Regions from separate parts of the Homo sapiens genome. Here regions 1, 2, 4, 5, 6 and 7 are each linked to region 3. The links are contacts of gene promoters, found by promoter capture Hi-C in blood cells and fetal thymus (Javierre and others, 2016). All regions are on one chromosome and are shown on one strand. Each heading gives the region's core, a stretch centred on a gene start or on the middle of the fragment in contact. The rest is flanking DNA. Distances are from core to core; before and after follow the strand shown. Region 1 overlaps ADGB (androglobin). Region 2 overlaps ADGB (androglobin). Region 3 holds the start of RAB32 (RAB32, member RAS oncogene family). Region 4 overlaps GRM1 (glutamate metabotropic receptor 1). Region 5 overlaps ADGB (androglobin). Region 6 overlaps ADGB (androglobin). Region 7 overlaps ADGB (androglobin).

Region 1 (3,336 bases), core at 349-2,848, 190 kb before region 3:
TTTTTGTAAAGAAAAATGGCTAATAGGATTTTATTAGATCTCAATCTACTGCATTATCTGCAAATGGTTTAAAAGTAGATAATTTGCCAAGAAAATGTGAATCCTTATTAACAGCCTCAAATTTACTGTATCAGAAACTAACATTCTTTTTCTAATTATCCTATCTTAATTTCTTCATAGTATTTACCAGCATCTGAAATTGATATCTTCATATATTTACTTGTCTATTATATGCTTACTCTCACTAGAATACAAGATTCATCAGAGTAGAAACCTTGTCTGTTTCATTGACTGCTATAAGGCCAAAATATGTAACATTGCCATGCAATCAAGAGTTATTCAATAAATATATGTTGAGTGAAAAAAATGCAAACACCATTTAAAAAACATTTTGAATAGTTGAACACAAACTCTATGAAGTACATTACTAAATTGCCCATATTTTCAGTCTCTAAAAAGGGAAGTAAAATCATTATATGTAAATTTTTACAACATATATGGACAATAAAAGCATATTTTACCATATGCATGGTTTGAATATATTTCCCTAACTTTATGTGTTAGAAACTTAATTCCCAAAGTAACAGCATTGAGAAGTGGAACCTTTAAGAGGTGATTAGCTCATGAGGGCTATGCCCTTATGAATGAATTAATGTGATTATCGAAAGAGTGTGTTAGTTATCTCAGAAGTGGCTTCCTGATAAAAAGATGAGTTCTGGCTCTCTCTATCCCTCCTTTATCTCTCTCTCTCTCTTTCATGAATGTGCTCTCTCGCCCTGCCACCTTCCTCATGGGATAAAGGCTCTGTCCAGATGCAAACCCCTTGATTTTGGATTTTCCAGCCTTCAGAACTGTAAGAAATACATCTCTGTTCTTTATAAATAACCCAGTCTTTGGTATTCCATTATAGCAGCACAAAATGAAGCAAGACATCCTATATTGAGTTTGACGAATGCATATGTTTTGTAATGAGGAAAAAACCCATTGAATTAGACAACTATCATTAAACTATGTAATTTAGGGTTTTTAAACCATTGTGTATCTGACGTTTTTACTGCTTAAACATTTTAAATATTATCATTAAATGTTTTAAATAGATTCTTTTTTTTTTACAAGAAAGTTTTTCAATATATGTAAAGAATTCTATTGGAGGTAAGGCTTCTCCTATCAAAATGTCAGCAAAAACCACAGAATGAAAATAATTGAATATATATTTTTTGTTTTTTGTTTTTTTGAGACAAGATCTCACCCTGTCGCCCAGGCTAGAGTGCAGTGGTGTGATCTTGGCTCAGGCTCGCTGCAACCACCACCTCCTGGGTTCAAGTAATCCTCCCACCTCTGCCTTCCAAGTAGCTGGGACTACAGGCACATGCCACCATGCCTGGCTAATTTTTATATTTTTTGTAGAGACATGGTTTCCCCATGTTGCCCAGGCTGGTGTTGAACTCCAGAGCTCAAGCAATCTGCCCCCCTCAGCCTCCCAAAGTGCTTGAATATAAGTTTTGCATCTGCCATGTTTTATTTTAAGCTGATAAAACTGGCCTATTGGCAAAAAGATTTTATTTCATATACATAGATGTATCTGATTTAATAAATTTAAGAACACACTTAACATGCATTTTATGCCTTCTAGATGTGTGTCACTATGGACATACATAGTGGCTTCTTTATTATGCATTAGTTTATTCATTCACTTAATTATTCACTCATTTGTTTGAAAAATCATCTGGAAATGTGAAAATATCTATGACTTAGCTGAGGCTGACTGAGGTAGCACAGGTGCTAGCTACTTGGGATATATACAGAAAAAGACCAGTTCCCTGTTTTAAAAGAACTTGCAATAGATTGGGAAAACAAAGCTGATAATGCATTCATTTTTTCACTCATTCTTTCAGCAAGTATTTATTGTGTGCTTATGATGCACCAGGCACTGTGCCAATCCTGGGAACAAGACACTTGGTGCATTGGACATGCTTCCTGATTTCAAATAATTTCATTATTTAGAGGACTGAAATTAATTAGCCATAAAGTGGGGGACTCCAAAATACTTTCATTAACACACATAAATATTTATTCTTATACAAACAAGTTCATTTTATAAATGTTTGGACAATCATACCTGGTATTCTGGCTTTCATAAGCAATCTAACGTAAGTTCCTCTCCACATGGCTTGAATTTTAATTGCTGCTGCTACTTCCTCAGCAGAATACTCTTTATCACTTGTGGGCATACAATATTTAACGTCCAGCCATTCCACTGGAAAGGGAAAAACAAACTTTGGACTGAAAGTTATATTTAATCCCTTCCCTAAGTTTCAACGCCTTCAGCTGCCAAAGCCCTCCAACATATAAAATTCTACATTGCAAGAGTTAGCATCATATTTAATATTGCCGGCTCTAGGTGGTTCTTGTTAGAATGTAAATATTCTGCAGGAGGGAAAACACACAAAATAGGGACATATTGGTGAACTACTATTGATTCCTGTGTGAATATAGCCAGAGATTTTTCTCAAAAATAAAAGACATGTTAAAATGATGAGAGCAGAGCATGGGAAGAAGAGAGAAAAGTAGGGTTACTTGAGTCAGAGGATCTTGCCAGAATTCTTCAAATCAAACCATATAGATTAGTGACTTCCATATTTTTAAGGTTAGGAGTAAATAAAACAGGGAAATTCTCCCCTGTAAGACACTCCCCTAGAAGTATATGTGGTGGGGATTAGGGGTAGGGGATCCCCAGCAGGTCCTTGGAGCCCCTTGAGCTCTTAGAGCACTGCTTGAACTCCATGACAGTCCACACAGACTTATTCCACTTACTCCACAAACACATTTCTTAAATTATTTACCTTACTTAAAACTAGGAATTCCTTGATTAAATATATACAATTCATGGGTACCTAAAGAAACCTCTTCCAAGGAGGAATTGAGTAACTCCAAGTCCAAAACCATAGCCCGGAATGCAAATTTGAAGTTTGGAGGAGGTTTTGTTATTTGAACTTTTTTCATTAAACGCCATAAGGAAAGATGAAAAACCTGAAACACATAAATTTTTTTTATAGCAAGAAAATACCATCATCTGGCCAGAGAAGCTCTAAAAAATTTTTAGATACTCTAAAAATAAAAAATAAAAACCATTTCTCAGATGTACACGCAACCTAACAGAAGATTCTTTGAAGTCTCACCTGCCCAGTAAGAGACCAAAATTATCATTTGATTATTTCTAATTTAACAAAATGTAATCACTACAACGTTTATAATATAGACTCAATGAAAATACAGCATTAAACTGGTAGAGGAGGTAAAGAATAAGGTAAAAAAAATAGCATTATCCTTCTGCTT
Region 2 (3,383 bases), core at 65-2,564, 150 kb before region 3:
ACCACCTTTAATCTCTCACCAGCTTGCACTCTTACATTGTCTACTCCTTTTAGGAACATAATTTGAGCAGCTTTGACATCTCACCAAAGCAGTAAAACAAACAATGTGAAAGAGAAAAGTGAGGGCATTTTTCAATAGTATCTTTGTTTTACATATAATATTTTCATATCACTTTATTTTTACAGTCAGAGTTTTCATTGATTAATTAATACATTTTTCCTCACAAAAACAGTGCCCTTTCTAGTTAATCCTCTGTGTCCCCTCAATACTTTATTTAAATATCCTTGGAATAAGGGGGCTCATTTAATTTATTTTTTTAAGTTTTATGATGCTAAAGAACATTTGAAGTAGGCCTTATTTCAACCAATTCAAAATTTATCTTAAAATAAGTATTTCTGGCTGGGCACTGTGGCTCACACCTGTAATCCCAGCACTTTGGGAGGCCAAGGTGGGTGGATCACCTGAGGTCAGGAGATAGAGACCAGCCTGGCCAACATGGTGAAACCCCATCTCTACAAAAAATACAAAAATTAGCCGGGTGTGGTGGCACACACCTGCAATCCCAGCTACTTGGGAGGCTGATGCAGGAGAATCACTTGAACCTGGAAGGCAGAGGTTGCAGTGAGCCAAGATTGCTCCACTGCACTCTAGCCTGGGCAGCAGAGCAGACTCCATCTCGGGAAAAAAAAAAAAAAGTATTTCTTACTATAAAAGGGAACTTAAGAAATATTGCTTTTGTATAATCACTGCAATGACACAAATTTTAGTATATTTGTCATGAAAGCATACATTTTTATTTATTAAATAAAATTGATTTAAAAGGTTGAAGTTGAAATGCTTTAACTATTAGGACAATTACATTCAACTGGTCTTCTCAATAGGGCAAAGAAAATGCCACTTAGTTATGTTGCATTATATGAATGAATGAGCTTTTCATTTTAATCTATGAATAGTAATATGGGTTAAAATAATAAAAACTAAAAATAATATAATACTGTTATAGTAAAATGCTACAATTATGGACAGGTCACTTGTTCATTCCTTTTAATATTTAGAAGAAACTTATGCAATGATGAAAATGTTCACTTAGAACATTTGACTACTGAGAACTTAAAATGTTGCTAATGCAACTAAGGAAATTAATTTTTAATTTTATATAATATTAATTAACTTAAAAAATTTTACATAGCCCCATGTGCCTAGTGCCTACCATACAGGAAAGAACATAATTTTAAATACTGAATAACTTAGGTGCTTCAAAATATTTTAATATTTTAATCAATTCAATTAATATTTACTTAATACCTATGATTTACTTAATGCCTATGATTTCCAAGTTACTATGTTAAATATCCAATTGTTACAGTGTAGATACAAAGCCCATATGCTAACTGTTAATGTCTTTATTATAAGTATATACAAAGCAACGTTAACTAATTCTAAAAATTTGGTGATGTTACTCATTACACCCAGAAAATTACAAACAAATTTGGAGAAGGGAAGGCTATTGGAAGCAGACAATATTAAGAACTGATAAAGACATCATTAGTACTATGAAAGCAAAATTAAAACTACAACTAAGCCAATCACTGAAACAAAGCCCCGGAAAAGCCAGTAGTCTCAGGTCATTGAATGTTAGGGTCATTGTTCCTCAAAGTCCTTGAGGTCCCTCTGTTAGAAGACAGTATAGTAATAATGCTAAGTATGATTCATCCAGGAAGCAAGGAAGGCTTTGAGTATGCTCTACTTAAGAAGGAAAGACATTATTTAATATATTAATAATGTGTATATTACAAGTGGTTAATTTAGCCCAAATTTTGACTAAATTAATGACACTGTTGATAACATTGCATTGCATTTCTATTATATTGCAGTATCAGTTAGGACTGCTTGTGTCCAAGTGACAGAAGGCTAATTCATAGTAGCTTTAATAAGAATAGAAATTCCACTGGCTTTTGTAACTGAAATGTCCAGTGGGACTGGAAAATAACTTACACAGTATTTTTTTACACATCTAGAAACCTAATAATAAGAGAATGGAGTGGTGCATATATAATTGTTGTCAAATATTTGAAGATTTTTCATGTAGATAGGGAGCTAAAAAAGCTGCAATGTATTATTTTAGGAGTTTTATATATTATTCATTTTAGGGGAAGAACTGGATGAATTTACAAAACACATCAACAGAACACACTACTTGCTAGATGAAGGGGAAGGAAGGTGCTATGGTCTGAAGGTGTGTATATACTTCTGCCATCAAATTTATATGTTGAGATCCTAAACCCTGAAATAATGGTATTAAGAGGTGAGGCCTTTGGGAGGTGACTCAACCTGCATGCATGGCATTAGTGTCCTTGTAAAAGGTACCCCAGAGAGCTCATTCACCCCTTCCACTAGGTGAGTACACAGTGGTAAGATGCCATGCATGAGGAAGCAGACCCTTGCCAGAAATTGACTCTGCTGGCGTGCAGTTCTTGGACTTCCCAGCCTCTAGAAGTATGAGAGATAAATTTTTTGTTATTTACAAGCCACAAGTCTATGGTATTTTGTTATAGCAGCCCAAACAGGCTAAGACAGAACATGAATGCTAGCAAGTGGGATTGCTGCTATGGTAACTACCTAAAATGTGGAAGCAGCTTTGGAACTGGGTAATAAAGGCTGGAAGAGTTTGGAGGTACATGCTAAAGAAAGCCTACATTGCCATGAACGGACCTTTAAAGATGATTCTGGAAAGGGCCCAAAAAGGAAAGAAGAGAGCTATAGAGAAAGCCTCAATCTTCTTAGAAAATATATACGTGTCTGTGAACTAAATTCTGGTAGAAATATGGATAGTAAAGGCCATTTTGATGAGGTCTCAAATGGAAATTAGGAACATGTTATTGGGCCATGGAGGAAAAGCCACCCTTGTTAGGCAAAGACTTTGGCTGATTTTCTGTGTTCCAGTGTTTTGCGGAAGGTAGAACTTGTGAGCAGTGAAATTAAATATTGGATTGAGGAAATTTCTAAGCAAAGTGTTGAAAGTGCGGCGTGGCTTCTCTTGACTCCTTATAGTAAAATGCTAGAAAAAAGAAATAGATTTGGACAATTCTCAGCCTATCCATATTGGGAAAAATGAGAAAGCCTATTTGAAAGAGAACAAGGAAGATGTGGAAACCACTTCCACACTTTCAGATATTTGTTACAGCTGCACCCTACTTCTCTGTACCAAAGTCCGTATTTGTTTGCTCGGGCTGCCGTAACAAAATACCACAGGTTAGGTGGCTACCATAGGAGAAATCTATTTTCTCACATTTCTGGAGACTGGAAGTCTGAGACCAGTCAGGATGGGTGCCAGCAGGGTTTGTTTCTTATGAAGACTCTCCTTCCTGCCTGCCAACAGCTGC
Region 3 (3,372 bases), core at 841-3,340:
TAAAGAGTAAGGCAAGGTCAATCACCCTTGTAAGCAAGGTTTTAAAACCATCTTTGTGAAAAACCTCAGCTATGCTGCAGATTCCTGGAGAATGACCGTCACATGGTAAGGCAACCTTTAGAATCCATGACTTTGTCAAGAAGCAGAAATACTGCTCATTAGGGTTCTGTGCAACGGCAGGAAGTGTTTCGAAAAAACTTCTGGCTTCAAAGATGACTTTTCAAACGAACTTTTGGTTTTTGGTAACAAAAAACAACAACAAAAAGCTGAGTCCCTGGCTGATTACTCCTTTTTTCTGAGCAACTGAGTTGCATACAGTTATTCTCCTGTCTGAGGGACAGAAATGTGCTCTTAAATGAATGAGTTATAGGTTACAATTATTTACTACTCTTTCTTATGTAACAAGCTATAAATGACAAGAGCACTACCTGGCAGACAGACAGTAGACCTGTGATCCCCCCAACCACTCTGCTACCAGCCAGGTAGCTATACCCTCCATGGGCTTCAGTGTAGGGACTGTAGAATGAAGGGTGGCCTCAGGTGTCCTCTAACCCTAAACCAGCTCCCATTCTAATGCTGTACTGCAGACTGTGCTTCTTAACACCTGTAATGATTGAACAGAGTAATTTTCGTACTTTTTTTTTTTTTTTCTGAGATAGGGTCTCACTCTGTTGACCAGGCTGGAGTACAGCAGTGAGAACACAGCTCACTGAAGCCTTGACCTCTCCTAGGGTCAAGTGATCCTCCTGCCTCAGGCTCCTGAGTAGCTGGGACTACAGGCACGCACGACCACACTTGTCTAATTTTTTGTATGTATGTATGTATATATGTATGTATGTATTTTGTAGAGACAGGGTCTCACTAACAGCCCAGGCTGGTCTCGAACTCCTGTGCTCATGCGATCCTCCAGTCTAGGCCTTCCAAAGTGCTGGGATTACAGGCGTGAGCCACTGGCACTTGGCTTGGTACCATTTCTATGAACTTTCCAATAGTTAACATCATCTTTAAAACGCCCACTCCCAACCACCACACCAGGCAAAGTTCAAGTGTTCATAAATCAGAGCAGAGGGAAATGTACCCCCTCAAACAGAACAAATGAAAGCAAATGGCAGAGAAACACTGTATTGAGGAGTGGGGGGGGGGCGGGGGGGGGCGAGGGCACCAGGGATGGGACTAGGTGTTGGTTTAGCAAGAGAGGAAGGGGTGAGTGTAAGGTTTCAGAAAAGCTTTCCCAAATCTTCACGGAGTGTCTGTCCTCGGCTTCCGATGAGAGCAAAGTATTTGAGGAATGGAGTTTCCCTCACAAAGGCCAGTCTCAGAGCCAAGGCGGGTGGTGGAAAATGATCTGGAAAGGAACCTGGCTTTTGGTCTTGGTGGTGTCACTAACTAGGAGTGCAGCTTCGGGTTAAGTCACCCAATCCCTCTGAACTTGAGTTGAGGCTGAGAGGCGCCGGCCCGCTCCAAAGCAGCCTTCTCAACTAGTCCTGGTGTATGTATGATATACTTGCATTATTCAGAGTTCAAACTTCTGGAAAAGGCCCCCTGGCCTCCTCGCCTCCCTTCAGGAGAGCGAGCTCTGGCGTGCAGGACCTGCTCCAACTCCTACTGCCCATCCCATCCTCTGGGCCCCACCGAGTCCAGCCGACCGCGTCCATCGCATCTCGCCCTTGGATTGGGCCTCTCTCTTCTCCTAAAGGTACCCAGGCAGACGAGTTCAGGCAGAAAAGAAAAAGAAAAGAAGCAGAGAGGAGCCAGGCGGCCCGGCGGGGCTCTGGAGTGGGAAACTCGCGGCCGCGCTTACCCGCGATGTCCCACAGCTGCAGGCGCACCAGAGTCCTGCTGTCCCAGTTGAGGACCTTGAGGGCGAAGTCCACCCCGATGGTGGCCCGGTAGTGCTGGGAGAAGAGCTGGTGGACGTAGCGCTTGATGATGCTGGTCTTGCCCACGCCAAGCTCGCCGATCACCAGCACCTTGAAGAGGTGCTCGCGGGTCTCGGGCGCTGGGGCGGCGGCCGCCCCCAGGCCGGGGTCCCCGGCTCCTCCGCCCGCCATGAGCGCTGCGGCTGTCGGGCGCGCCTCGACTCCGAGTCTGGCCCCCTGCCCGGCCTCGCGCTCTGCCGCCGCGCCCCCGGCGGCCGCGGAAACTCCCCCGAGGCCGGCCAGCCCTCCGCCGCGCCCGCTGACGCCGCCTGACCGGTCACAGGACCCAGAACCCGCCAGTGCTCGCGGCCCGGGCGGGGCCAGACGAGGGCAGGGCCGGACGAGGGCAGGGCCTGGCGCCGGCTTGGGGAGGACCCTGCGCGAGGCGGCTCCCGCCCTGCGCCTCTGAAGCCCGGCCGGGCCCAACTGGACTTCCTCTCCCGGGCGGCGCCTCCGAAGCCCGGCCGGGCCCAGCTGGACTTCCTCTCCCGGGCGGCGCCTCCTGGCGGTCGCGGCGCGGAGGGAGGCCCAGACGCCCGCTGGTGGGCCTCCGGGGAGCCGGCCTGGAGCCTTTATGGGCCCCGGAGGTTCACTGGGGGCCTGAGGAGGCGCCGAGGTCGCTGAGCCCCCCCCGGGGCCGGGGTCGGCGTGGGGTCCGGGCCCAGCCTGGAAGCCTCTGGCCTGGAAATCCACCTCCTGCCCTACTCTCCCCGCAGGGAGAGCCACACTTGCGGGCCTTGGCTTGGGTCGCGAGCAGTCCCCTTTAGATGGGAAAGGAAGTGGCACCGTGACTTTGAACTTAACGAAGGACGGATAACACTGGGCTGGTAGTTCTGTTTTTAACTTTTTGAGTGAACCTCCGTAGGGTTTTCCATAATGGCTGTTCCAGTCCGCATTCCCACCACCAGTGTACAAGGTTCCCTTTGCTCCGCACATCACCGACACTTATTATCGCTTATCTTTTTTATAACAGTCATCCTAGCAGGTGTGAGGAGATACCTAGTGGCTTTTCCCTGTTCATTAGTGATTTTGAGCGCCTTTTCTTATACCTGTTGGCAATTTGTACTTCCTCTGGAAAAAAAAAAAAAGTCCATTCACATCCTTTGCCCGTTAGTTAACTGGGTGTTTTATTTATTTATTTTGGCTGAGTTCTGTGAACGTAATGTATTTTGGATATTAACCCCTTATCAGATATATGGCTCACAAATATTTTCTCCCAATCTATAGGCTGTTTTTTCATTTTGTTGATTATTTCCTATGCGGTGCAGAAGCATTTTAGTTGGATGAAGTCCCATTTATCTAGGTTTGCTTTGGTTGCCTGGGCTTTTGGTGTGATATTGCAAAAATCGTTGCTAAAGCCAGTGACCCAGCTATCCCTCTTCTGGGTGTATACTCAAAGGAAATGAAATCAGGATCTCAGAAATCGCTCTCAAGTTCATGCAGCATTATTCAC
Region 4 (3,305 bases), core at 337-2,836, 200 kb after region 3:
CTAGATTAACACCCAGCCTGCCTGACTCTGCAACTCTTACTCTTAAGTACAAGATACTTCTGTCTCTTGCTTAGTTACTGTCCCAGAGTAACATTACACTCAGCAAGCTAATGGGAAGATGTGATATTTGTCACAATATTAACAAATGTTTGTGTGTACAAAATAAAATTTGTCCCTGATTGCAGACAATATATAATCTATAAAGAGACCTTCCACATTTTATCACATGTAATGTTGCCATGATTTATTTCACATGAATGATGTTAATACAGAGACCAAATTTTTGCATAGCTCTTTATATAGATGCTTTGTTCATCACTGCATAGAGGAGGTTAAAAATCAACAGGCAAAACTAATTTGGAAAGAAGCTCACCACTAAAAGTCAGTATTATAGATTCTAAAACCCTCAGACCAACACCGCCACAATAAACTATTAACTGATTCCCTAAGGTTTTGTCTGAGTTCCCAGACTGTTACATGGTCATTTCTTCTGACATAGTCATTGTTCATGCACTTAAAAAGTTTCAAGTGCACCTTCTCTTCTAGGGGTAAATACACAAAAAAGGTTAACTTAAGACTCTAATTAAATGAGTGGCCCTTGAGGCAGGCATACAGTCATGGTTGTTAATATTAGTTTAGAGCCCAAATAATGATAACAAACTTTAAAGAAGCTCTAAGGTGCCACAAGGAATTGTCTCAGAGAAGCAGCGCCCATGCCTATAAGGCTTCTCGTTAAGACTGGCTGCACCGTTGGGGTTAGGTCTTTGCAAAGTGACCTTGCACAAGCTTACCAAAACACACTCATCAGAAATGTGATTGAGGAACATACGGAGTTTAGCATCTCTGGGCCAATGTTTCTGTTGACTGTGGAACTTTCTTAGTGCTTTGGGGAACTTTGCTTTCTAGAGAGTCATGTGTTATTCCCTTTTCGGATGATGTCTTCATCGTGGGATTCAGTCCTACCAAAATACTAATTGGGCAACATATCAAGATTCTCCCTGATGGTTTCTAGTTATTTTGAGATGAGAATATATGAGACAAACACAAACGTGGTCAGGTGCTTATTTGTCTACACTTATTCCATGTTCATTTTTATGCCAAAAGTATATTATTTTATAATATTACAAGAAAAACATCTTCAACTAGAGCTTGGAATTTAGATGAAATAGGAGTGGTCCCTCTACCGCTTCGCTGTATGTATTTGATTCTCAAAACTGCATAAACAAGGAGCCAATTCTAGAGAGAGGGAGGGAGACAGAAATCTTAACATACTGCTAACCACTTGGTTTTTCTAACCAAAACCAAGAAAACAGGAAAAATAGACCATAGTTAGTCATACCTAACCAAGGCTAGATTGAAGGAATGAGCAATGGATACCTTTAACTCAACATAAAGGAAGAATCTAGACTGAGGTACTAGATTTACACCAAAGCCTGTGTTAGTTGAGGGCAGTCCTGGTTCTGGGTACAAAATGCAGTGGTAGTACAGCAGAACTCTCTCACCATGTGTGTGCATGCATGTGGGTTTGCACATGCTTTGGGTTAAATACTAGAATGTGTGCATTCAGAGGACCCTACTATTTTGGGGCCTGTTGTTTTGTAGCATCCTCCAACTGAACTGAACACAGAAAGAGGCAACCTTCTCAATAAGAGGACATGCTAAGCTACGAGTGAGGTTAGAAATGTGGCTTTGGGGCAGGGCGCGGTGGCTCACGCCTGCAATCCCAGCACTTTGGGAGGCTGAGGCAGGCAGATCACGAGGTCAGGAGTTCAAGACCAGCCTGGCCAACATACTGAAACCCTGTCTCTAATAAATATACAAAAATTAGCTGGGTGTAGTGGTGCATGCCTGTAGTCCCAGCTGCTTGGGAGGCTGAGGCAGGAGAATCGCTTGAACCCGGGAGGTGGAGGTTGCAGTGAGCTGATATCATACCACTGCACTCCAGCTTGGGCAACAGAGTGAGACTTTGTCTCAAAAAAAACAAAAAACAAAAAAAAGAAATATGGCTTTGGTCCCATGCTCTGATTTCTCTCATCCAAGTACTAACCATGCCTGACTCTGTCTAGCTTCTGAGATCAGACGAGATCGGGAGCATTCAGGGTGGTATGGCCCTTGCACTAATTTCTTACACAGCTAGAAACAAAAACAAAAATGCAGCAGCAGAGATTACCCTTCAACAAGGGACAAGAAAGTCATTGCAGAGACTAGTTTGCTGAAAAATGGGCACTAGTACCAAGATAGGTGTATTAATTCTGTATATGCTCAGAAATAGTTAAGAAAGAAAAACCAGGGAAAAGATTGATCAGCATGATACTGCCACACTAATTAAATATGACAGATTCTTCTATGGGCTAGGTCAACAGGAAAACCATTAACAGAAGCTTCTCTAAGTACATACCTGGCATTGATTTTTCAGTAGTGCCCCCTGAAAGCTCACAGAATCTAAAGTGAAGGCAGAAATGATTTCCTTATGCCTCAACGACTGCTGAGTCATAGTCACCAGGTACGTCTGCAACTGCTAATGTAAACTGAAACAGCATACAAAATTCCTTGGTGGATTGTTTTCAAACTGTGTTCATTAAGGAGGAAAAGCCTATTTTGTGTGCCAAGGGATGTTGCAGTTTAATGGGTTTCCATGGTCCCTGGCTTCCCACAGTGGAATGTTATGGTGGTACAAGTTACAGAAGCCCAACGTAGCTTATGATGTTAAGGGAAAGGATAGCTGAGGGCTAGCGTGCTGCCAGAAATCCAGCACAGCACTTCCCCTATTCCTGCCACCAATTTGCAAAACCTTCTTTGTATTGTCAGAGTAGACTCTGTGATATCAGCGCACTTTGCTTATTTTCATGCAGTAATAAGTTATTTAGACAATTGTCTTTCATATTATCTCAATTATTCTTATAGTGAATGACTGATAACTCAGCAATAGGATGATGATCTAACTGAAGCATGATTATTATTGATGGTGACTACAATACATTTAAGAATATTCAAAAGAAAACCTGATATGATGACTATAAGCTATCACTCAAGATTATTGAATAAAAGCTGTAATATAAATGAGGTGTCTATTTAGTATATTAGTCAAATTCAGAGCTCTTAATGTCTGTGGAAATAAAATGAGTGTGTATAAATGGAAAAAATGAAAGGGAAAAGTTCAGATTATTATTTTAGTCTGAAACTATGAGATGTTCTTCAAGTCCCTTAAACATAGAGCAAAAATTATGTTCCATGTTAAGGTTGTGAATTGAGTTTGGGTGGAAGGGAATTGTTGAATGCTCATGTCCATTCAGTTATTTGATGGG
Region 5 (3,386 bases), core at 49-2,548, 220 kb before region 3:
TAGATTTTTTTTTCAAATTCTCACAATTCTATTTACTTAGTTTTTCAGCTTGAACTGTCAGTTTCCACGAGGCATGGGTTAAAAATCTTCAATTATTCATGATTTACTTATCTTTTTATCTCTGTAGTTCTAATAGTTATTGCTTTTTATTTATTGTGTCTAGATAATTAGGTGCCTATATGTTAGTTATGGCCATGTCTACTTGATTTATTCTACCTTTTATTTTTATATAATGTTTCTATATGTATTAAAACTATCATCAGGCCAGGCACGGTGGCTCGCACCTGTAATCCCAGCTCTTTGGGAGGCCACGGCAGGTGGATCATGAGGTCAGGCATTCAAGACCAGCCTGGCCAACATGGTGAAACCCTGTCTCTACTAAAAATACAGAAAATTAGTCAGGTGTGGTGGCAGGCACCTGAAATCCCAGTTACTCAGGAGGCTGAGGCAGGAGAATCGCTTGAACCCAGGAGGCAGAGGTTGCAGTGAGCCGAGATCACGCCATTGCACTCCAGCCTGGGCAACAGTGCAAAACTCCATCTCAAAAAACAAACAAACAAACAAAACACTATCATCACAGCTCTCTCTTGGTTCATATTTGCCAGGTATGTTTTTCTAACATTCTATCATGAAACTTTCTACAGCAGTTTGTTTAAAATAGTTAGATCTTATTTTTATATAACTTTAAAATTTTAGCATTTTAGTTGATTAATTTGATCTATTTGGATTTATTGTAATTTCTGTGATATTAACATTTATTTCTGGCATTTTCTTTTCTATTCCTTTAATTTAATTTAAACTTATTTTACTTTTTGGTTTCCAATGGCTAGGTCATACCTTTGTCTGCTGTTTTATAAATATGTACATTATCTTTTTTCCCTTTAATTGTAAGCACATACAAATTAAGTTTTATTAATATATGACCTTTAATATGTGACATTTATTAATATGTGACCCACAAAGTTATATAGCTTCTTATAACCCAACTATAAAATTAGATAATTACAGGTACATTATAGAGTTCATGTACATATTAAATTTGCCAAGATGTATTCATGTACATATTAAATACATCTCTGTGCCAAGATGTATTTAAAGATCTTGGCACAGAGAAACTGTTCAAGACTCTCTTATTCTCCAATTCTGGCTATACATTGGCAGCACTGCACACTGTATATTGACTATTTTTAGGGAAATGATTGTTTTGTTTTATGTTAGGGTTTTAGGAACAGTCCAATTGAACAATTGTTTTTAATATACCTGCAGTGGTGTGCTGGAACTGTCTTCTCTAGTGGGTGTACTGGTAGTTTCCTCCTCCACAAGGGGTAGACCAATGTCTTGTATTGCACTTACAGCTCTACCCTTGGGGGATTTCTGAATTCCCTGAGCAGCTTTCTTCTTAACATACACTTCTTGCTCTTTCTTGGATGCAGAGTGAAATGAAAGAATGTGCTTGCTAGCTGAATAGGAGAAATACTAAGTTAAAGTTAAAATATGTGATATACATAGTTATTACTGACTAAATCAGTTACATTCCTTTATAAAACACTCAAAGGAATAGGTCAATTCTTTTGTTTTAGTGAGATAAAAAACAGTGTTTTTGGTTTATTGTTCTTAAGGAAATCTATTATAATAGTATGTGACATGCACAGAGCAATGTATATTCTGAGTAACCACTTATTTCTAAAAGTATATACAACAGTTCAACAATTTCTCATTTATTTTGTGCCACTTGAATGACCCTAAGCTAACGCCAGACACTGATTTTCTGTGTTTAATGCCACATATGTATGTTATCACACTTATAAAAGACTTTCTCTTTAATTTTCAATTTTTAATTATTTTCTAATTAACAGATCATATAAGTACTGCTGATAGGTTTAAAAATGGAAATGTGGTGAAGAATTTTTATTTTCAATTATTTTCTAATTAACAGATCATATAAGTACTGCTGATAGGTTTAAAAATGGAAATATGTTGAATGTTATTAATTAATTCATCAAACATGTATTGAAAAAACATAAGTGACTGACACAGGGATATTCTAATTCCAGCCATGACATTGGGCTTATTCTCGTACCACAAAAAATGATAAAAATGGACAAAACGTATAAAGCAACTATTTTTAGCCACCGGAAAATATACAGCCCAGGATTGTGATCCTTGAGACAAGGGAAACATACAAAGTGACCTCTTGATTTCCAGAGATTTCTGCCTGCAAGCACCTTCCCAACTGTATACAGGGAAGTACAGCCCAAAGTAGTGAACAGCAGTGCTGCTAGGTTTAGGAAACAAAGATGGGTGAGTGGGGCTCCTGCAACAAGTAAAATTTGAGGTAGGATACCAGAAGGGAGTATATGAGCAGTTAAGGAGCTCAGAAATAGACATGGTGTCCACTTGAGTCTTTAGCTGAATTCTAAACTTCATTTGTGCAAACACTCAACAATACCAGGCAGACAATAACTACTGGGGGGCTGTGAGCTTAATGAAGATTCTGGTAGTTCCACAGTGTTGAGAGACATTGAAATTCTGACTTGTCAAAATGAAGGGAATTCAGTGAATATGCAGAGCATTCAGTTGAGACCCAAGAAAGGCCAAGCTTTAAGAGTAGAGCTACCCTAACACTAGAGTCATGGCAACTCTAGAACTGACTTACTAAGCTCAGGACCAGGATCAAGCTGCCAATAAATTAACTGCCCGCCAGAACAAGATTCAACACTCTTTCAATTAAAAGAGCATAATCTAGACTCTTAGCAGTGTAGCACGCACAATATACAGCACACAATCAATTTGATAGATGAAGAAGCAGAAAATGTGACCATAACTTGAGAAAATAGTCAATAGAAATAGATATGAAGCTGATAAAAATGTTGGACTCATCAAACAAGGACTTTAAAATAGCTATTTAAAATGTGCTTAAGGATTTATGGAAAAAGATGAACATACTGAGTGAACAAATGGTGAGTATCACAGAAAAATGAAATATATGAAGAATCAAAATGAAATTCCAGATCTGACTATATCTGAAATAAAAAATATCTGGATAGACTTGAACAACATTTTGTCAAATTCAGAAGAAAAGATTAGTAAACTTGAATACAAGCAATAGAAATGATTGAAATAGAACCACAGAGTGAAAAAACTTCAAAAGAGGATAAGTGATTCATGGTACGATATTGTGGGAAGTGAAATAGTGACCCCCCCAAAAAAATATGTCCACCCAATAACTTAGAATGTGACCTTATTTGACATAAGGGTGTTTGCAGTTCTAATTAAGAAAAAGATCCTAAGAAGACATCAACCTGGATTAGGATGAGCCCTAAATCCAATGATGGGTGTCCTTAAAGGTGACAGAAAAATGGTAAAACATGGAGACATACAAATAA
Region 6 (3,015 bases), core at 427-2,926, 250 kb before region 3:
CAGTGGCACATGCCTGTAGTCTCAGCTACTTAGGAAGCTGAGGTGGAGAACTGCTTGAGCCCAGGAGGTTGAGGCTGCAATGAGCTGTTATTGTGCCACTGAACTCCAGTTCGGGTGACTGAGCAAGGCCCTGTCTCAAAATAAAAACTAAACTGAAAACAAATGGAACAGAACACACAATGGGAAAGGGAAATCTCTTCAATAAACGGTGTTTGGAAAACCTGATATTCACATACAAAAGAAATAAAATGGACCCTTATATAAGAATCAGCTTAGGCCAGGGTGGCTCATGCCTGTAAACCCAGAACTTTAGGAGGCTGAGGCTGGAGGATTCCTTGAGCCCATAAATTTGAGACTAGCCTGGGCAACATAGTGAGACCTCATCTCTATAAAAAATAAAATATTCACCAGAAATGGTGGCATGCGCTTATAGTCTCAGCTACTCAGGAGACTGAGGTGGGCAGATCACTTGAGTCTGGGAGGTTGAGGCTGCAGCGAGCCATGATTGAGCCACTATACTCCAACCTTTCTAAAAATAAAACAAAAACCAAAAATGATCAACTAAAAATAGATTAAAAACTTAAACATAAGTCCAGAAAGTATAAAACTACTAGAAGAAAAACAGGAGAAACAGCCCATGATATCAGTGTGGGCAATATTTTCTTTGAATATGATCCTAAGAGCACAGAAACAAAAGTAAAAATAGACAAGTGGGACTGTACCAAACTAAAAACCTTTGCTGTGCAAATGAAACAATGAAAAGTGATGAGTCAACCATGGGTTGAGATAAAATATTTGCAAACCATACATTGGATAAGAGGCTAATATTCAATACATACAAGGAACTTAAGCTACTCAATAATAAGAAAGCAAATAACTACATTAAAAAATGGGTAAAGAACCTGAATAGATATTACTCAAAAGAAGAGACACAAATGACCCACACATATATAAAAAGATGATTAACATCTCCAGTCATCAGAAAAATGCACGTTAAAACCACAATGAGATACTACCTCATACCTGTTACATTGGCTATTATAAAAAAAGATGAGAGATAACAAGCATTGGTGAGAGTGTGAATAAAAGGGAACTCAGGTACACTTTGGTGGTACTGGGAATTATTACAAGCCATTTGAAACACCAGTATGGAGGTTATTCAAGAAACTAAAAGTAGAATTACCACATGATCCAGCAATCCTGCCTGTGGGTATATATCCAAAGGAATTAAAATAAGTACGTAAAAGAGGTGTCTGTACTTGTATGTGCATTACGTTATTCACAACAGCCAATATGTTGAAAGGACCAAAGTACGCATCAGTAGAGGAATGGATTTTTTAAAATGTGGTATGTAGACACAATGGAATGCTCTTCAGCCTTTAACAAACAGAAAATTCTGTCATTTGCCACATTATGGACAAACCTGGAGGACAAGATGCTAAGTAAAAAAGCCAGCCACAGAGAGACAAATGCGGCATGATCTCATTTATATGTGGAATCTAAAAATGTTGAACTTGTAGATATAGATATTAGGATGGTGGTTACCAGAGGCTGGGGGGTCATAGTGTAGTGGACAAGGAAAGGGAAAATGTTGGTCAAAGGGTATAGTTAGTTTCAGTTAGCTAGCAGGAATAGGTTCTGGTGTTCTATTGCATAGCTTGGTGAACACAGCTAACAATTTATTGGATGTTTCAAAATAGCTCAAAGAGTGGATATTAAATGATCTCACTCCAAGGAAATAATAAGTATTTGAGGTAATGAATATATTTATTAGCCTAATTTGATCATTCCATAACCTATACATGTATCAAAACATCCCATTGTACCCCATAAATATATATAATTATTTGTTAATTAAAAATGAAATTTCAAAAAGGATTACTTTGTTAGCACATAAGTAAATAATTTGATATCAGAATTTAAGTTGCATTGTTTTGGCTACATTTTTCTATTTTATAGATCTTTAAATTAACTAAGGATGAGGAAAAGTTTGTGTTCAGTTCAAGATCACAATATATGGAGACCAAAGAGCTGGGTGTAAGTCCAGGTTCTAGCCAAACTGCATCAGTTTCCTGCCCTTGGGTGAGTTATTTGCCAATTCTGTCATTTTAGAAGTGGAGATAGCAATATATGCTTTCTCTAATTCCTGGAATCTCAAGTGAGATAAGAGTGGAAAAATTACTCTACAAATTAAATATTAATGGTAAATGAAATGTGTTCTAATGAGTTTTACTGCTACCATCATGTGAGCTATTACCTATTGAATGGGCATGTACTTTCAAAATATTGGTTAAAAAATATCAGAATCTCTTGTTAGTATAGTAAAAGATTCCTTTTAATTTTAGAATTTTCCTCTCAGTATGGAAATCACTTAAGGACATACTTTAGCTTTAAACACTTCTTAATTTAAAAATTCTCAGAATTGTTTAGCAATTTTGAGAAAAGAACCATTGTTGGCTTTTCTGAGAATGCTTCTTTCTAAGATTTCTTTCTTTGCTGTCTGGGTTCAAAACAAGTAGAAAAATAGAGTAAGATTATACTATTGATCCAGGTTTAATCGGAGGATGTAGCTTGATGTGAGAGACAAATGGGCCATGATCACCTGAAGCTGACTGACTGTTCCAGCACAGTCTAGGTAGTGCTCACACCTGAGAGAGAAGCAGTGCTTCCATGGGCAGCCTCATTCATTCTCTCCAAATGCATTAATAGGACATTTAGTTCCCTTTAAGACAGAAGGAGTTGAGGAGTTGCTTAGGAATTCATGGAAACCAGGAGTGTGGAAAGGCATTTTCCTTTGATCAGGGTTTTAGTTCAGTTTAGTGAACAGATATGAATCCATATAGAAATGAATCAGGTCAGGGTGACTTGTGCACCACTGAAAATTGCTCTTTTTCAACATTTAAAAAATGACATTCTTAAAATTTGCTATGAAAGGTAAAAAGGAAATCTATCTTGTAGCATACTACAGATAACACAAAAAAATCTGTGTTTAACGAGAAGTGTATGTGTGAATGC
Region 7 (3,227 bases), core at 45-2,544, 170 kb before region 3:
TGGTAAACAAAAAGATACAGCTCTTCTAAAGATGCTAACAGTAAGTAGGGGGAAGAATGGGCACAGGGAAGCAATCAGAAAGTTGGGAGGGTGGGAGGCAAATGCCAGGCAAACATAGAGCATACAGAGGACATGAAGCTGAGCCTTTTTTTTTTTTTTTTTTTTTGAGATGGAATCTCACTCTGTTGCCCAGGCTGGAGTGCAGTGGCGCAATCTCGGCTCACTGCAACCTCTGCCTCCCAGGTTCAAGCGATTCTCCTGCCTCAGCCTCCTGAGTAGCTGAGATTACAGGCGCATGCCACCACACCTGGCTAATTTTTGTATTTTTAGCAGAGATGGGGTTTCACCATGTTGGTCAGGCTGGTGAAGCTGAGACTCTTAACCCAGATTCCATGGCCAGGGAAGGGAAGCCTCACAGTGTCAAGGGCATCTGTGCTATTCTGAAGGATTTCTAGGCATTAGCTGAACAACAGCAATGAGGATAACAGGGATGAAAGGACAGAAACTCCTGGCAGAGGGATGATACGGGGGAAAAAATGCAGGCATAATGGTGGAGTGTCCTTATGTTTTAGGAAACATACACTATTCAATAAATACTAATTGAAACCAAATCTAGTGAATTTATTTGTGCATGTCCTTCATTTTTTCATAATTCAAATTTTTCTTAATGTGAATTTGTATAATAATTCAGGCCAGGATTCAACATAGTCAGATGGATCACATTTGTGGTTATGAGCTAGTGGAATTTTGCTTATTGCTTGGATAAGGATTAGTGAGAGACTCTAAAAATTAATTTTTAAAAATATAACTATGTTACAAGTTTAGAAATGTTTTGAGAAATTTGAAGATGTTTTCTACGGGTGCAATTCTACCAAAAATTTAAAGAGAATAGAAAAGATTCTAACATACTTACCTTAAATTCTGATTTTTGAAAGTTAAGGCAATATGAACTTGGCTTGTGGAAAATATATATATTTCTGAAAGAAAGACATTTTTAACAGGTTATTGTCATTATAGGCAAAGACTAGTACTACATGTTAAGTTTCTTATAATCAAATTATTGTAGGAAGAAAGTTAAAAAATAACAACAGTATTGGGTCAGTTGCCCTAAAGGGACAAGAATGATTCTAGTGAATAAGATTTCTTCATTTTAATTAAGAAACAAGCCTTTGAGGAAAAGCTGCAACTGGCCTAAGATTGGTTTGGCTATTAATGTGTTATATGGATAATCAATATATTTATTTTCCATTTTATAAATTTTATTTGATATTATACCAACACTAGGCTGTTATTGGCTTATTTTGGATGATGCTAAGAATTAATAGGTTATATAACCACTATATTAAATATGCAAAAATAAATCTTAATGTGACTTTGTATACTAATGCAGCTCAGGGTTTAACCACTACGACATAGTCAGATTGATCCCATTGGTATACTTACTGAAAGCATACACAGAAATCTTCAAAATCTAACCATATTTCTTTAGAAACACTATTATTTGTTGTTGGAAGTTCTTCCTGTGACTTTTCCTGTGTTGCTGTGGTCTGGCTGACTATCTCTCTTTCCAAGTTTAATCCATCACTCTGATGAGCATCACCCAATCCAAAGTCTGTTTGTTCATCTGTGCCTAGAAGACACACATGTCAAACACATCTTATATTGTTAAATAACAAGTTATTGAAATATGTAAAATGATAAAGGGAAACTTAAATATCAAAGTCTATTTTTGGGAAAATATTTATGAGATAATCCAGGCTTCATACATTTATGGAGGTCCACACAGGGACACATTTCATACACAAAGGAGAATTTAATCACAATTTCTATGCATATCAGGGTGTTCAAAAATTTCAGAATTACTTTGACGAATTTGTTCACAGATTCTTTTTTTTTTTTTTTTTTTTTTTTTTGAGACGGAGTCTCGCTCTGTCGCCCAGGTGGGACTGCGGACTGCAGTGGCGCAATCTCGGCTCACTGCAAGCTCCGCTTCCCGGGTTCACGCCATTCTCCTGCCTCAGCCTCCCGAGTAGCTGGGACTACAGGCGCCCGCCACCGCGCCCGGCTAATTTTTTTTGTATTTTTAGTAGAGACGGGGTTTCACCTTGTTAGCCAGGATGGTCTCGATCTCCTGACCTCATGATCCACCCGCCTCGGCCTCCCAAAGTGCTGGGATTACAGGCGTGAGCCACCGCGCCCGGCCCTCACAGATTCTTTAGAGATTGTGAAGTTACAACACAAATTAGCTAGATTCTTTACTGAAAATCTGCTCTAGATGGACATATTCTTATAGGAGGGGGTGGCTCAGACAACAGAAAGGGAAATGAAAACTTGAAAGATCTGGTGCAACAAATGTGTTTCAGTAACACATTTAATCACTCCCCACAGTCAGTGGTTCTAGAGCCTTATTTTATATTTACCAAGTAATGTGGCATACCATTTTTTTTTTTTTTTTTTTGAGACGGAGTCCAGGCTGGAGTGCAGTGGCACGATCTTGGCTCACTGCAACCTCTGACTCCCTGGTTCAAGAGATTCTCCTGCCTCAGCCTCCCAAGTAGCTGGGATTACAGGCACACACCACCATGCCCTGCTAATTTTTATATTTTTAGTAGAGACAGGGTTTCACCATGTTGGCCAGGATGGTCTCGATCTACTGACTTCGTGATCTGCCCGCCTCAGCCTCCCAAAGTGCTGAGATTACATGCGTGAGCCACTGCACCTGGCCGGCATAGCATTCTTAAAGACTTCTGGATCCAAAAATATATATATAATTTTGAATTCAATTCTTGGCCAAGTCTTTTATTTAGGAACTAAGGAATTTGCAGTGGTTTTAGTGTTTCGATCACAGGGTGCAGCATTAAAACACATGAACTTTATTTGTGGGTAATCAGATTCTCTTTCATTTTTATTTTTAGCTTCAATTTAACAATTGAAATTATCTCTTTTTTTAAAGCCCAGAGCAGACTAGACTCAGCAAATCAAAGGAGACACTGAAGAAAGGCTGCTGAGAGCCAGAAGGGAAGCTGTCAAGAAGCAGAGATGCCCCTCTGTATCTTGATGTACATTGAAAAAAGTCACAGGAAAATTATTAATTTACCTTTTCCAAGTATAACTTGTGAAGCAGTATTTCCCTATGAATTAAAAGAAACACACTTTGAATCCAACAAAACATTACAGCTATCCAAAGCACCAAAGTTACTAAAAGAGCTAATATAGTTTTTTTAAAC

The links. Contacts are between HindIII fragments. The CHiCAGO score rates a contact against its expected background, and 5 or more counts as called.
Region 1: a contact is called between a fragment that was not itself captured here and the fragment with the promoter of RAB32 in region 3, in 2 of 17 cell types (neutrophils and megakaryocytes). The highest score is 6.4, in neutrophils.
Region 2: a contact is called between a fragment that was not itself captured here and the fragment with the promoter of RAB32 in region 3, in 7 of 17 cell types (monocytes, megakaryocytes, neutrophils and 4 more). The highest score is 17.3, in monocytes.
Region 4: a contact is called between a fragment that was not itself captured here and the fragment with the promoter of RAB32 in region 3, in 1 of 17 cell types (M1 macrophages). The highest score is 5.1, in M1 macrophages.
Region 5: a contact is called between a fragment that was not itself captured here and the fragment with the promoter of RAB32 in region 3, in 1 of 17 cell types (megakaryocytes). The highest score is 5.8, in megakaryocytes.
Region 6: a fragment that was not itself captured here is called in contact with the fragment with the promoter of RAB32 in region 3 in 1 of 17 cell types (fetal thymus); the score reaches 5.1 in fetal thymus.
Region 7: a fragment that was not itself captured here is called in contact with the fragment with the promoter of RAB32 in region 3 in 2 of 17 cell types (neutrophils and monocytes); the score reaches 7.2 in neutrophils.

The regions. Positions count from the first base shown.
Region 1 is chr6:146,732,814-146,736,149 of GRCh38, reverse strand. ADGB (androglobin) reads right to left here. Exons shown (of 36, transcript NM_024694.4): 21 at 2,895-3,030; 22 at 2,120-2,257. LOC105378040 (a long non-coding RNA gene) reads left to right here. Exons shown (of 4, transcript XR_943093.2): 3 at 802-853. Among named protein-coding and RNA genes, the nearest start is that of ADGB, 140 kb to the right of the region's middle. The HindIII fragment of the contact is 3,821 bases long and covers 1-3,336 here.
Region 2 is chr6:146,693,390-146,696,772 of GRCh38, reverse strand. All of the region lies in intron 12 of ADGB (androglobin), which reads right to left. Among named protein-coding and RNA genes, the nearest start is that of ADGB, 96 kb to the right of the region's middle. The HindIII fragment of the contact is 5,580 bases long and covers 1-3,383 here.
Region 3 is chr6:146,542,551-146,545,922 of GRCh38, reverse strand. It overlaps RAB32 (RAB32, member RAS oncogene family), which reads right to left and starts at 2,090. Exons shown (of 3, transcript NM_006834.5): 1 at 1,802-2,090. The coding sequence starts at 2,051. RefSeq lists a silencer at 2,137-2,516. The HindIII fragment of the contact is 5,944 bases long and covers 1,229-3,372 here.
Region 4 is chr6:146,339,232-146,342,536 of GRCh38, reverse strand. The region is part of intron 3 of GRM1 (glutamate metabotropic receptor 1); the gene reads right to left. It also overlaps the pseudogene RNA5SP222. Among named protein-coding and RNA genes, the nearest start is that of RAB32, 200 kb to the left of the region's middle. The HindIII fragment of the contact is 1,595 bases long and covers 789-2,383 here.
Region 5 is chr6:146,761,975-146,765,360 of GRCh38, reverse strand. ADGB (androglobin) reads right to left here. Exons shown (of 36, transcript NM_024694.4): 28 at 1,261-1,460. All of the region lies in intron 1 of LOC105378040 (a long non-coding RNA gene), which reads left to right. Among named protein-coding and RNA genes, the nearest start is that of ADGB, 160 kb to the right of the region's middle. The HindIII fragment of the contact is 2,607 bases long and covers 1-2,601 here.
Region 6 is chr6:146,788,899-146,791,913 of GRCh38, reverse strand. The region is part of intron 33 of ADGB (androglobin); the gene reads right to left. Among named protein-coding and RNA genes, the nearest start is that of ADGB, 190 kb to the right of the region's middle. The HindIII fragment of the contact is 5,555 bases long and covers 1-3,015 here.
Region 7 is chr6:146,715,286-146,718,512 of GRCh38, reverse strand. It overlaps ADGB (androglobin), which reads right to left. Exons shown (of 36, transcript NM_024694.4): 14 at 3,098-3,131; 15 at 1,444-1,630; 16 at 914-977. Among named protein-coding and RNA genes, the nearest start is that of ADGB, 120 kb to the right of the region's middle. The HindIII fragment of the contact is 4,096 bases long and covers 1-3,227 here.